Linked DNA regions of Homo sapiens: region 1 is linked to region 2. The links are contacts of gene promoters, found by promoter capture Hi-C in blood cells and fetal thymus (Javierre and others, 2016). All regions are on one chromosome and are shown on one strand. Each heading gives the region's core, a stretch centred on a gene start or on the middle of the fragment in contact. The rest is flanking DNA. Distances are from core to core; before and after follow the strand shown.

Region 1 (7,331 bases), core at 1,595-4,094, 3.9 Mb before region 2:
GTGGCCCCCACCCACAAACTGACTCAGTGTAAGAAGATGGTTTCGAATCCCTGTGATTTCGTTCCCAACCCGATCAATCAGCATTCCTCGTTTCTCAGTCTCCTGCCTGCCAAATTATCCTTTAAAAACCCTAGTTCTTTATAACTTAAAAAACAGACTGATTTGAGTAAAGTCCAGTCTTTCACCTATCCAACTCTCTGTGCATTAAACTCTCTATTGCAATTCTCATCTTGATAAACTGACTGCATCTGGGCAGCAGGCAAGAGGAACCCATTGGGTGCTTACAGGACCTTTGTGATTTTGTGCTGCTTGTCTCAAGTTGTAGGTTCAGGATATGATGGTGGAGACAAATGACCAAGTTCTGCTTTTGGTTAGGCCCAGAGGGCATCACCTGTGCATTTCCATGCAGACTCCACATTGTGAGATGCAATGCCACAGTCCCACCTGTCTGACCACTTCCTATAGTAAGAGATATCCTGCAGATGACTCCAGCCAAAGACGTTGATGGCAAAACCAAATCAAAACAGATAACAGAAACAGGAGGAGGAGCCAATATTAGAAAAAAACAAGTCACTGATGTCAGTAAAACCACCGTGATAAATACTGTGGAGAAAGAGTGGTCATGAGTTGGACTCACTCAGATCAATAAAGCATTTTATACCTGGTGCTGTTCCTAGTTGCTTGCGTGCAGCAGCATGCCAGAAGTAGAATGAAATCTGTGGAAATCTTATAACTACTAGCTTCTGAGTATATGTCCTTTCTAATTTGTAGAGGAAGATTGATCCTAAGATAATTACCTGAAATTAAAGAGGATATCGACATCTATATTTCCACCCTTGACGTCTTCCCTAAGCTCCAGATTCATATATCCAGCTGTCTCTTGGAAAAAAACCAAACTCATTATGTTTCCCCAAACTCATTCGTCTTTATATATATATTTGTATATATTTAATGTGTATATATGTGTGTATAAATACACTCACATATGTGTGTGTGTGTATATATATATATATATTTTTTTTTTTTCTTTTAGAGACAGAGTCTCACTCTGTCATCCAGGCTAGAGTGCAATGCTGCTATCGTATCTTATTGCAGGCTTGAACTCCTGGGTTCAAGGGATCCTCCCACCTCAGCCTCTCAAGTAGGTAGGAATACAGGAGTACAGGAGTGCACCACCATGCCTGGCTATATATATTTTTTCAATCTCACCTCATTTATAGTTACGAACTCATTGTACATGTAGTGCTAGTACAAATTAGAAATTAAATCAATATTTTTTAAACTAAACTGACCCTGATGATGTAAGTTCACGTCAGTTAGGATCCTTTCTTCTACTTTTAACATATTCTAAGCTCAAGAAATCAGAAGACATATTTTTCCTTAGGAATGTTCTTAAGGGACACTTTTTCCCTTTCTATAACCCTCAGACAAACTCCAACATTGTCTATTGGGAATAAATAACACTCAGTGAAGAAAACTGGAAGAAGAGGAGAGAGGAAAGGCAAGGCCATCCATATAATGAAGAGAATGTTGTCTAGAAATGAAAATGACTAAGAGAAGGAATCATGTAAGTCAACCAGCAACAAAAGCCATTCTACGATTGCAGAACTCAGGTTAGGGCCTACAAATGGTGATAAGTTGACCTCTAAGTTCCCCAAGGCAGAGGGAAGTGGTGGGTTGAAGCGTTGCAGGGTAGGATACTCGGAGGATCTCCTCAGAGTGTGGCATCCTGAGCCATTGCTGCGAGTCGCTCAGATGCGCTGTGCATGCCTGACAGGGCATGATGCTTGGCCATATATGGGCCACAGGAAAAAACTTCTCCTTCACCCTCTGAAGATTCACTAAAAAATGAACTCGCAAAAGGCAGATATGTTGGAGAAAAGGCATATAGATCTATTAACATGCACACAAGGAGAACCACAGAGTACTCACCCACCTCCTAATGGGGTTCAGAAGCTTGTCTGCCATCCTGGCAAAACAGGGTGTGGGAGGGAGAGAAGAGGAATTCTGTTAAGGGGATTACTAGGAAGAATAAATAGATCAGAGAATAGAGATTAATTTATATGTTGTCTTGTGAGTGGGTCTGTTCAGGCATGGTTACATTCTTGGTCTTATAGGGAGGGGAATTTAAAACAACTGTTCTCCTTAATGGGTTTGGCTATTAGGCAGATAAAGAAATGTTAACTTCCTTCTGTGCTTTGGGAGAAATGGTAGGAGGTGGGCCGGGGAGAAAGACCTTGAGGCTTCTTCAGTTCAGCATGTCAATGTGCCATATTGTTGGGGTATTAACTTCTGAGCCCCAACAACCAGCGCCTCACCTCGTAGGACGCCTTGCCTGGGCACTTCCTTCTCTGCTTTCATGGCCCCTACTGCTCCTGAAATTGTATTGTCCCTGGTCCCCTCTCCACTCACTGCGAATCTTTGAGGTCCTAGGTAAAACAAGGCAGCACACAGGACTGCTTAGATCTGCCCACCAGGTCTCATGACCTCCCAGCCACACGGGCTGATTGTTTCTGCTCCTTGAAAACTCCGGGCATGTTTCTGCCGGCAGACCTCTGCACCTGGGGCTTCCTCCTGTCATTCAGGATCTGCGCAAATCTCACCTCACAGAGTGCTTCCCCAGTCACCCAATGCGGAGTAACATCCATGTCATATCCCTCTTTAAGACACTCTTCATAGCACTTATTGTTGATGTTGAGAAAAGAAAAATAGCTTAGCGCAGTCTGCACTATGTGAAGTATGCAGGTGCAGAGAGACAGGAGCAGGGCCTGCAGTCATTCCACCCTGCTCCCACCGTGGTTTAAAGCCATTTAGTTCCTGACTAGCCGCCTCACCCAGTATCTTCATGTTGCAGGAGTTTGTGATACAAAGAACAGTATGTAGTCCATCAATAGCTTATGTTATTTTAATGTAATTTTTTGCTAAACAACTGAGGAACTGCCTCTTTCTTTTACTTTAAAAACCTATTTGTAACTGTTGCTAACTGGATGTATGTTGAGGGCAACTCCAACCTATGGAATTGCAACTGAAACCACCTTTGCAAAGATTACGATTACTACAGTGACAGAAATCTAACAGGGCTGACTCCATCTTGCTTCTGACCACCTAGCTGTCCCGGTTAATTCCTAGGTAGAGGCCAAGCTAACTTTGGGAGGGATTTTGTTTCTAGTTCAACCTTAAAACAAAGATGATAATAGCTCTTCACAAAACTAAACTGCATTTGTAAAACTAATGAAAGTCCACAAGAATAAGATTATGAGAGGGGCCTGAACTCTGCTAAGATGTAGGTGTCGTTTCTATAATCTCTTACTGCTCCAGAGTCATGTGGCAGAAGGCACAGGATTCATGACTTCCCCAATTGCTCTTATAAATAACATCATGATTGTGGAAGCTAAGATTGATTTTTTGAAATGTTTTTCAAACTGACTGTATCCGGACGATGACTCATGACCCATCAGGTCCTGGGGCCCACCCAGAGGACCATTTTCCACATCTCTATGATTTCCTCCCCAACCAATCAGCACCACCCATTCCCTAGGTCCCTGCCCACCAAATTGTCCATAAAAACCCTAGCCTCTGAGTCCTTGGAGTGTCTGATTTGAGTAATAGCTCTGTCTCCCATGTGGCAGTCTCATGTCAATTACTCTTTCTTTCCTGCAATAGCATGGTCTCAGTGAATTGGTTTTGTCTATGCAGCAAGCAGGAAGAATTCATCTGGTAATTACACAACCCTCAAGCTTGGCCCAGATAAACTCTCTTATATTAGTTTTGCCTCAGGTTCTTCCTTTTAGCTCAATAATATTATTATTTTTTTATTTGCTTACTTGTCAGTTGACTGTTGTCCCCACACAAGAAAATAAACTGCACAAAAGGAGGCAGCTGAACTCTCATTTATTGGTGTAGATTCAGGATCTAGAGTGGTGCATGCAATTCTTGGAGCTCAACCAATGGTTGTTAAGTTAGTGGATAAATAAAATGCTGACTTGATGTAGCATCAGCATCATGGGGTAAAACATTGTATCTCAATCTTACTTCAAAGGAGATTTTGGTCAAGGCTCCGCTATAAACAAAAATCTTCCTTCTCTTAACATGTAAAGTCTATTTACTAACTTGTAAAGACCCCTTTCTAACTTGGAGAGGGTGAAGGCCTGACAAGATAAGACAGAAGGCAGGTTATCTGAGGGAACTCTTGAGTAGAAAAGGAAATTGACAGCCCAAAGCCTATGACAGTGTCTAATCCTGGAGATTAAAGTGGGGGAAATGCCACTGAAAGCAGGTCTGGGTTTCAGAGCTCCCTCCCTCAATTGTGATGCATACTATAAGATCACAGTTCTGAGGTTCTGATTAGCATGTCTTTTTTTTTTTTTTGAGAGAGAATCTCGCTTTGTCGCCCAGGCTGGAGTGCAGTGGTGCAATCTTGGCTCACTGCAACCTCCGCCTCTCAGGTTCAAGTGATTCTCCTGCCTCAGCCTCCCAAGTAGCTGGGACTACAGACGTGCACCACCACGCCCAGCTAATTTTTGTATCTTTAGTAGAGACAGGTTTTGCCATGTTGGTCAGGCTGGTCCCGAACTCCTGACCTCAAGTGATCCACCCACCTCAGGCTCCCAAAGTGCTAGGATTACAGGTATGAGCCACTGCACCTGGCCAAGCATGTCCCTTTAAATCTCACCTGGTATCACAGGGAGAGAGGGAATGAGAAGGGGTTTTAAAAGGACATGCTTTTAAATAGACATGCTTTTGAAACCCTCCTCATTCCCTTTCTTCCTATAATACCAAGTGAGAAAAGATAAGAACTTGTGGCCGGGTGCAGTGGCTCACGCCTGTAATCCCAGCACTTTGGGAGGCTGAGGTGGGTAGATCATGAGGTCAGGAGATGGAGACCATCCTGGCTAACACGGTGAAACCCCGTCTCCACTGAAAAATACACAAAATTAGCCGGGCATGGTGGCGGGCACATGTAGTCCCAGCTACTCGGGAGGCTGAGGCAGGAGAATCGCTTGAACCTGGGAGGCGGAGTTTGCAGTGAGCCGAGATTGTGCCACTGCACTCCAGCATGGGCAACAGAGTGAGACTCCATCTCAAAAAAAAAAAAAAAAAAAAAAGATAAGAATTTTTGTCTGAAGACTATGAGTCCTTTTAAACAATCAGGCCCAGAGTGTAAATCTGAGGACTATGTGTCCTTTTAAACCATCAGGCCCAGAGATTTAAAACTTCTTCTCATTCCCCCTCTCCCTATGATACTAGGTGAGAAAAGATAAGATAAGAACTTTTATCTGAGGACTATGAGTCCTTTTAAACAATCAGGCCCAGAGAGACATAATGAGACAGGAATCATGTCCTACTTCCCCACTGAGCTACATATTCATGTCTTCAAATTGCTTGCGGGTGGACACAGTGGCTCGTGCCTGTAATCCCAACACTTTGGGAGGCCAGGACAGGAGGATCACTTGAGACCAGGAGTTCAAGACCAGCCTGGGCAACAAAGTGAGAACCCTGTCTCTACGAAAAATAAAAATAAATAAATAAATAAATAAATAAAAACCTGCTCGCTCTTGCCACAAGTAGCTATCAATTAACCTAATAATGCCTCACTGGACACTATAACCCATACCCAGTAGCTTAACAAGGTATAGCCAATCACTATTTAATGTCATTTCTGTAAACCAATGTGAATTCCTGACAAATACTTCGTATGAGTCCACTCCCTATCCCCCTTTTCTGCCTTTAAAAATCTACTTGTAACTGCTGCTACTCAGAGTGTATATTCGGGGCAACTTGAATAATGCTCTTGGGTTGCAGTTCTCAAGCTTGGCCCAAATAAACTATTTCTGTTAATTTTGCCTCCGTTTCTCTTTTTTTTAGGTCAACACAGATTCTCGGAATTAAACACTTCCATGTCCCAGAGGATCAAAGTCACTTGCAAAAATACCTCAAAATGTGTTTGTCAAGAAATTACACTTTCTCTTGATTTTGTGGACCACTTTCTAATTTCCAACCCAGACAAAAGCCTCCTAGTGAAGCTGGTCTTTCCTAGCACATCCCCCTACCCCCCCAGCCACTGTCCCATCCCTGGATGGCCTGTCCACAGAGAGCACTGTCTGTGTGGCCACTGGGGGAGGCAGCTGCATCCCAGAGATGATGGTGTCCAGGGCATGACGAGGAAGCTCTTTGTGTGGCCTGGAGACGTCCCGGGAGCTGGCTGGCGCCCACCTTCTCTCACTTCCTTACCACCTTCTTTCTTGTGTTGCTGCTTTCTCCTTCCCAGCTCTAAACTCCCATGGTGCTGGAGCAGCCAGAGAAGAAGTGTTACTAGACCTGCCACTGCTACCTACAGTGAGCCCCATTCTGCACACAGAGGCTGCGGACTCCTTTTTCCCAATCATAGACCAGAATGCTTGTGAAAGAAGATGTGGCTGTTCTGCAGGTTGGAGCTCTAGGATCGGAAGAACTCATCTGTATCACATATGATCCAGCTGAAAGTCCCTACAAACTGGGCCCTCTGTGTCTTTAGAAGCAGCTTCCAAGGGCAGGAAGACTTCCAGAGTGCAGGACTGAGCGTGCTGCTAATCTTGTTCTGGTCGAGAGACTGATGAGAGAGACAAGAATTATGGCGCGAGAAAAGCAGCAGCAGCAGCAGCAAGTCTGCAGAGGGGAATGCCAAACTCGCTACTGGGTGTTTTTTTTTGTTTTGTTTTGTTTTGTTTTGTTTTGTTTTGTTTTGTTTGATACAGAGTTTCACTCTGTCACCCAGGCTGGAGTAGAGTGGTGCCATCTCAGCTCATTGCAACCTCTGCCCCCTGGGTTCAAGCAATTCTCCTGCCTCAGCCTTCCGAGTAGCTGGGATTATAGGCATGTGCCACCATGCCTGGCTAATTTTTGTATTTTTAGTAGAGACAGGGTTTTGCCATGTTGGCCAGGCTGGTCTCAAACTACTGACCTCAAGTGATCCGCCCGCCTGGCCCCCCAAAGTACTGGGATTACAGGTGTGAGCCACCATGCCTGGCCTGCTGTGATTTTTCATTGAACCTAATTAACTCATTTTTAGCCCCTATTTTTGGTACAATAATAGAACTTAGGTTGTAATCAACTGGTGGGTTCTTTCCGCACACTGCACAGATAAGATCAGTCCACAGAGACCACAGCGTTGCAGTAAAGAAAGAGTTTGATGTGAGGCCAGCCACGTGGGAAAACTGGAGTTATCACTCAAATCAGTCTCCCCAAAGGCTTGGAGGTCAGGATTTTTGTGGACAATTTGGTGGGCAGGGAGCTAGGGAATGGGTGTTGCTGATGGGTAGGGGGTGAAATCATAGGGGTGTGGAAAACAGTCC
Region 2 (7,800 bases), core at 2,802-5,301:
TACCGGTTAACATTGGATAAGTATTTAAGAAAAAATCTACCTTGTGGCAATTTATGTATAAATAATATTTCATATAGTTGTTAAAATTTTTTTGTAGCCTAAAATAATTCTTAGCAATTTTTGTTTTTCTTTATTAATTCCTTGTATCTATAATCACTTGTGCTAAAGTCACCCATTTTCCCCAGTAATACAGGTTTAATATTCTCAATCCTTACCACTTTACCCTCACACAGAGGCATATATCCATGCTACTTTTTTTTTTTTTTTTTTTTTTTGAGACCGAGTCTCACTCTGTTGTCCAGGCTGGAGTGCAGTGGCGTGATCTTGGCTCACTGCAACCTCCACCTCCTGGGTTCAAGCAATTCTCTTGCCTCAGCCTCCCGAGTAACTAGGACTACAGGTGTGAGCCACCACACCCAGCTAATTTTTGTATTTTTAGTAGAGACAGGGTTTCACCATGTTGGCCAGGCTGGTCTCAAACTCCTGATCTCAGGTGATCCACCCACGTCAGCCTCCCAAAGTGCTGGGATTATAGGTTTGAGCCACTGCCCCTGGCCACATGCTACTCTCTTAAAGACAGAGGACCTGGGGGCATGAGGGCTTGAGGAAGGTGGACGTTGTTCAGAGAGGTGAGCTCCAGGCTAGGGGAGGGCGGAGCACACTCCACCAGTGGTTCCCAAACTTGGCTGCTCATTGGAACCACCTGGCAAGGTTTTCAGTCTCTGATAATTGGGGTTCCCCTCACCATCCCCATCCCCCAAAGACTTTGATTTAACTGGTCTAGGTAGGGCCTGGGCATGGAGATATTTTAGCAGCTCAGGTGATTCTAATGTGCCCCCAGGGTTGAGCACCACTACTCTGTATTATTTGCTACTTGGTAGTTAGGTCTGTGGCCAAGTTGGCAAGAGTTAGGTGGAAGAATACTAGAAGAGGCAGCAGGGGCAGCCCACACAGTGGCAGTGGGATGGGTTGCAGCACAGATGATTTGGTGGACCAACATGAACAGGTGAGCAGCATGACCAATCCTGGCCTCAAGCACCATGACCACGCATGAGATGATGATGGCGGTGCTAATGAAGAAGTTCCTAGAGGTCAGATATTTCATTTTCCCACAGTGGATGATGGGATGCTCTTGTATGCTGCGTCCCATTATTTGTGGTAGTTATGTTCTATAGTCACTGTGAACACTGAATTAGCGAATACCGAGTCACTGCTTCTTAGGTTCCTGTGAGTCTCTGGACACAACATTTTCATTACATTATGATTAATACATAACCTTATATGGTGTGTGTTTCTGTTTAATGGACACCTTATTTAATATATGGCTGATTCATTACATTGAGTTCACAACCAATAGCACAGTAGCTCCTGCCTGCAGGACGGTTCTCCAGTGGGCACGCCACAGCCTCTGGTGCTTAGCAACAACAGACAGCACTTTAGCAAGCTCTACGCTTCGGGCCATTTATTTTTATTTTTATTTTTTTTAATTTTTTTATTGTGGGGGGGGTCTCACGATATTGCCTAGGATGGTCTTGAACTCCTGAGCTCGAGCAATCCTCCCACCTCGGCCTCCCAAAGTGCTGGGATTACAGGCATGAGCCACTGAGCTCAGTCGCTTGGGGGCCATTTTAAACAGCAAAATCACCAACAAAAAGCACAGAAGTGTGGAAAGCATAAACTAAATGGACAGCAAAAAGAATACAAGAAGGCAGAGCATCGCCTTGTTCCACTATAGCTGGGAGGGTGTGCGTGGGGCAACTCAAGATTTTTACTGCTCTGGGATGTGCATATCTATGAGTGACTGGGAAAACACCTCAAGTATTGATTTTGAGATTACAAATACATTTTAGCAAGTAGATAAGTTCACAAATATGATATCTGCAAAAATGAGGATACACTGTACATAACGTATTTACAATACCGCCTTCTCTTGCCCCGCCCATCGTATTCCTTCCTTTCTTCAAAGGCCCATCTATCCTGTCAAGGAGCCTTAATTGATTTGCACCCTGCCTCTGATCACTGCCTTCTGTGCTCAATTTAGAGAAAACTGGTGAGATAAATCAGTCATCAATCAATTAACCAATCAATCAATACTAATGAACTATTTTAAAGCACCCAACATAATTTCTGGGAGGTAGAGTGGGGAATAGATAAATATAAAAGGCAGTGCCTTCCCAAAAGGAGTTTACCAGTAGTTGAGGAGACAAGCCTAACATGGGCAAACAATGCTAAAAAGTACCTAGGTCTAGTTTAAAATAATGTTGCACACCATACATGCTACAGATGCTTTAAAAAGTTGCCTATCAATAGGAGCTTTAAATAAAACTTTCCTGAGAAATAGAACTTTCATGGGACATTAAGAAGGAAAGACAGATATGGAGAATGATTGAATGAAGTATTCAGCAAGTATAAATGCAGCCTAAGAAGTGGAAATTAGCATCGTATCGTTTTTTTCCAAATAAGAATGAAGAGATGAACTTAGTGAGGACAATTTTGTGAGGAGTTAGGGAGTTGGGGATCTGGTTGCAAGCTCAGGTAAGCCTGATGATGCTTTGTTCCTTACCCTGAGAGACATTTTACCAAAAACACTGACAGACATTCCTGATAGATTAACCAATACCAAACGTTTTTGAATCCTATTCTTATTTGCCACACACGTTTAGTCAGGATCTCAAGGATTCATCAGTAGCAGCAGAAACTTTAATGTAGGGTTAATATATTTGAGAGGTCATTCTTAAGAAAAGTCTAGGCAATAGGCCCTCAGGTAGTGAATTATTCTGTAGGATTCATTGTTTTTTGTTTCATTTTGTTTTGTTTTGTTCTTTTTTCATTTTTCTATTTTTCTCCATAGGATTCTTGATAGGTTTCAATCACACACCTTCCCATGGGTATTTCCATGGGCAACCCACCCCTTCTCTTCAGCAGTAAACTAACAACTACATACCAGTGAACATCACAGGTATAAACCACCTTTCTTCTTTTAAGGAATTAGTATGCAAACTTTAGTACTCTTTTCCTAGTAACAAATAACTGCTGTATCAGATTGTGTCACAAGGCAGCTGCTTTGACTTATTGCTCTGTAGCTGGGGTCAGCCTCTTCAGAACATTGTTAATGAGAGAAAGGAAGTGCTTTGGGCAGTGTCTGGCCCATCAGGCCCTCTGTAAATGTTTGCTATTAATGCAATGCTGAGATCCCAGTGAACAGAATCTGGCTTAGAAGAAGTGGGTATCCACGGTGCCCGAGCCTAATCTTACATCTTGGATTTGTAAGTGGCATTTATTGAGTTGAACATGAGCTTGAGCACGCGGTCACACATTCTTTCAGCAAACACTGGTTAGGCACCAGCTGCTACGTGCAAGCACTGCCCTACATGCTGGGACGCAGCTGTAGTAGGAATGAAATAACGCCAGCATTCCTGCATGCGGGCAGTGCGGGCCCTGTACAGAAAGGTACACGAGATAGGCATCCTCACATCCATTGTCCTGGGAGGAAACTGAGGCTTTGAGAAACGGAGAACTTGCCGGGCCATTTGACTCTACGTCATCCCCTCCCCCATCAATGCCCTGAACAGCCTCCTGTACACCCTTAAGGAACTTACTTTGTAATGATTATTAAGAACTCAGCGAGACCCCGAGCATCACCTCGGCATATCGCATCCTTTCTCTAGAGAACCCCTAATGTTGGAAGGGATCAGAGCGCACCTCCTCCGCTCCTGGGAGCACCCCCTTCCTAATAATACCTTGGGGATGGGTCGGAAGGAAAGGAAAGGAGACGCGAGAGGTGTAGTCGATGTGCCTGCGAAGCCCAGGCTCCTCTGGAGATCCTTCCGTCCGTCCCTACAGGAGAAGGCTGGCCCGGGCTGCTCCACTCCCCGGAGCTGCAGACTGAGTCGCCAGGTTTCTGTGCCTTCAAAGCCCTGCGCGACGGCCACACCAAACACCCAAACCTTGGGCAGGGACCAAACGGTCACTTCCCCGCCCTCCGGGCTCAATATGCAAATCCGAGCACCAGGAAGTAGCTGGGACCTCTCGGCCGAGCCCAGAGACAGCCAGTTCCTCTCCCGCCGCGCCGGGCCGCGCTGCCGCTCGCTCCCCGGCCGTGGCGCCTCCGGGCCAGACGCGCTGCAGCCTCCAGCCCGCGGCAAGCGGGGCGGCCGCGCCACCCCCGGCCCCGCGCCAGCAGCCCCTCGCCGCGCGTCCAGCGTTCCCGGCCAGCAGCCTCCCCATACGCAGGTCCTGCTGGGCCGCCCCGTCGCGCCCCCCACTCTGAACTCAAGTCACCGTGGAGCTCCGCCGCCCCGAAACTTTCACCGCGAGCGGGTGAGTCCTCTGCGCGAGCCCAGGGGTGGGCGCGGGCACGCGGGCAGTGGGTGCAGGGGCCGCGGCTGTGCCACCAGCCGGAGTCCCGGGCGCAGGGTAGACTCGGGGCCGGGGGCATCGGCGCGGCCCGCGGCGGCTTCCTGGCCGCACCGCCTCTGGGCTCCGGCGGCGAAGGCTCTTAGATGTCTTCAGCCGACGGGTGACCGGGCCCGGGGGAGCCAGGGCGCGGGGACTGAGGCTCCGCAGGTGTCCGCCGCGGAGCCGCGCAGGGGAGCGGTGGGAGGTGCGGGCGCGGGGGCGGGCTCACCGCGTGTCCTTCCCGGTGAGGGCCCGAGGGCCGGCTGCTGTCCCTGCTCCGGCCGCTTCTCGCACACAGTGGGGAAGCCGCTGCCCTTGCGGAGCGGGCGCGCGGCGGGGATACTGGAGAGGACTCCTCGGATTGTGCAATCTGATCTCCCCTCTGGACCCTGGGTCTCCTGGCAGTGGGAGATGGGGCTCGGCCGGCGCCCTCTCGAGGCCCGCGGACAGTTGCCCTCCCTGGTGGCCCCGGGCAGGAGCGTGACGTCGAGGGGCTGCAGCGGAGGCTGGAACTCACCCTCCCGCTGCGGCGCCTCTCGGCCTGCCGAGGAGCAGTCCGGTGCTTTTGCCGGCTGAGAGGAAGCGAGAGTTATTTTAAGAATTCAGGGGTTGCCTTTCCTTCGCCTTGGGGGAAGGGCGTAAGAGTCAGTTCCCACTTTCCTGCATTCTCTGGGCCCATGGTGGCATCTTTTGCTTGCGGTGCATTCGTAACTTTCCAACAGCCTGCCTGTCATGTGGATTAGCGGTTGTGTTTTTGTATATCCGAGTGTGTTAATTATCCCAAATTCGCCCTTCTTCGCCAGCTCAGAATCTAGGCCTTGCACTTTTCTGGCTGTATATTTAGGGGACCGATTATTGAAATTCCCTGTTTGAGTTTCTTCATCTTTGAGAGAGCATATATACCTCAGGGGCTGTTTAGTACACACAAAGCCCCTAGTACGTACCAAGCATTTCATAAACGATGTTACTGTTATTTATTGCAGTGAATTCTATTCATATAAATGAGGCTTCTTGGTTCTTTGCAGCTTGGTGATGTTGAAGCTAAGACTACCATGTCAGATTTAGCCATCTGACCTTATTAGTAAATCTGCTTAATAAATACATGAGGGATTTGCTGTCCCAAAGCAGGGCCCAGTAGTCTGACTTTCCCTAAAGAACTAGCCAATAAACTGGTGGGCTACAGGGATGTTTTCTCTGTACAGCCAACACCTAAAGCCATGCCCTGGGGAATAGGCACTGCAAGAACCCAGGCCTTACTAAGCCCTTCTCTGTAAGAGTAAGCTTTGTTGGGAAAGGGTGGGATCCAGTTAGTCCCTCCATTCTCATTTGGAGGTAAGCAGGTAAGCGCTTTGAGGCCTGAATAAATTTCACTGGATCATAGAGTCTTTGGTGACTGGGCCTCTTTGGATGTAAATGTGTGGCCCTTTTGCTGAGTGAAGGATAGAGGGCAGCAGATGTAAGGGGAGAGAAAGTAGGAGCCAGGAACCTTGAGTTTTGGCCTCTTCCATCATTTAATATGCTGTGATTTGGGATAAGCCACTTGGGCCATTTATTCAGCCAAGATTTCCTTTATAGCAGCAGCCAGAGTTATATTGATTTGTCTGCAGGTTGATAGTCTGTATTAACCATTACAGTGGAAGCTCCATGAAAACTGCTTCATCTGTCTTGTCCAAAATGATAGCCCCAGTGCCTGGTACATAGTAGGTGCTCAGTTCGAGATTACTTGGAAGAAGGAATGAAGGCCTCCTGTGAGCTTGCCCTATGCAAAACTGAGGACATAGGGAGATGAAGAAATAGAGCTGGTCCCTAAGGTGTTTGAAGCCTACTGGCCCTTTCTGTTGTGGTTTCTAAAACGGGGATTTGAGAGGCTTTGTTGACTGTAAAGTTACCCAGCACTGAGTTACCCACATTTAGTGTGGGTAACTAAATGAGAGTCTCCACTCAGCACCGCTCTTCTCTACTTATTACTGGAAGAGAGGTCCTGATGTGGGGTGGTTAAGATGTTTCCTGCAAAGGTAGTTGGCCCAATCCAGAAGACCTACATTATTTTAGAGTCATTGGTGTTACAAAGGTAGGTCGAAACTTTGTAATCCCGCCCCTGCCCTCCAATAGCTTTCTTTTAGCAGAAAAGTGGTCCAGCACTGTTCAATGACTTTGAAAGCCTTTTACTTCTATCTGCAATATTTGTTTTTAGATAAATCACCAAAAACATCTGAGATTCCAGTTGGTTCACATGACTATGTGGAGTTGTAACTTAACAAAATTAAATCATATTATTCATGTACAAACCCATACTAACTTTATAAATAAGGACACCATGTATACATGCCCACAGCAGGGAACATTGTTATAAGCTCACTCCTACTGATGATCTCAGTGATGCATGGATGAGTGTTAACATTGAAAGGCCACCACAATCATTAGTCAGGACATTGATCAATGTCACATTGATAGCAGAGATAGCCTCAGACCTTTACTGGCTCTTCCTAGTGATGATGGTGAAGGTGTTAGCACCTTTCATTTGTTCAGGGCTCTGAAGTCTTCCTGAACTCTAATTTCATTTGAACCTCTTGTGGCTCCTATAGGATGGAGAGGGACAGATACAGAAAAAGATTCAGGGGGTTGTCTAAGGTCACAGGCTTGGTTAAGCGGTACCATTAGGAGTAGTAGGTATGTTTTTTGGCTCTTTCTACTTGTCCACCTTTGGACTTGTAGTGTGTGCTCAATTACAAATGCCTCTCAACTTATGATGAGGCTGTGTCCCAATAAACCCAATCGTAAGTTGAAAATACTGAAAGTAGAAGATGCATTTAATACACTTAACCTACTAAACATTATAGATTAGCCTAACCTACCTTAAACATGGTCGAAACACTCACATTAGCCTACTGTTGGACAAAATCATCTGACACAAAGCCCATTTGATAATAAAGTGTTGAATAGCTCATGTAATTTATTGAATACTGTATTAAAAGTGAAAAATGAAATGGTTGTATGGGTACTTGAAGTACAGTTTTTATTGAATGCCTAATGCTTTTGCACCATCGTAAAGTTGAAAAATCATTAAGTTGCAGACCATCTGTGCTTAAAAGCAAATAAATAGGTCATTTAACAAACATTTTAAAAGTGAAATCATGAGTTAATTTTCTTTTATCACTTGGTAATTGTCTGAACTAAGTGGCTAACTGCTCAGGACATAGCAGATGCACCATCAAGCTGGGCACTTCAAGCTGTCTTCTAGAAATGAATTTCTGTGCTTTTTAGCACTGCTTTTTGCTTGGGGGTGGGAAAGGGTGGTCTCCAGTAACTGCTAAGATGACACCTATACTGGCTGCTGTCCGAGCAGCCCTAGTGACTGTCTTGGGGGCAATCAGTTGCTTAATGGTTAATACAGAAGTACCT

The links. The method cuts DNA at HindIII sites, captures the fragments that hold promoters and counts their contacts. A CHiCAGO score of 5 or more calls a contact.
Region 1: a fragment that was not itself captured here is called in contact with the fragment with the promoter of LYN in region 2 in 1 of 17 cell types (M0 macrophages); the score reaches 7.8 in M0 macrophages.

What each region holds. Positions count from the first base shown.
Region 1 is chr8:51,940,571-51,947,901 of GRCh38, forward strand. It overlaps PCMTD1-DT (PCMTD1 divergent transcript), which reads left to right. Exons shown (of 4, transcript NR_189279.1): 3 at 1,428-1,567; 4 at 5,866-7,331. Among named protein-coding and RNA genes, the nearest start is that of PCMTD1-DT, 45 kb to the left of the region's middle. The HindIII fragment of the contact is 1,781 bases long and covers 1,955-3,735 here.
Region 2 is chr8:55,875,784-55,883,583 of GRCh38, forward strand. It overlaps LYN (LYN proto-oncogene, Src family tyrosine kinase), which reads left to right and starts at 4,052. Exons shown (of 13, transcript NM_002350.4): 1 at 4,052-4,320. RefSeq lists enhancers at 3,146-3,235, 3,796-3,855, 6,035-6,144 and silencers at 4,006-4,065, 4,086-4,255, 4,336-4,625, 4,656-4,835. The HindIII fragment of the contact is 13,046 bases long and covers 1-5,677 here.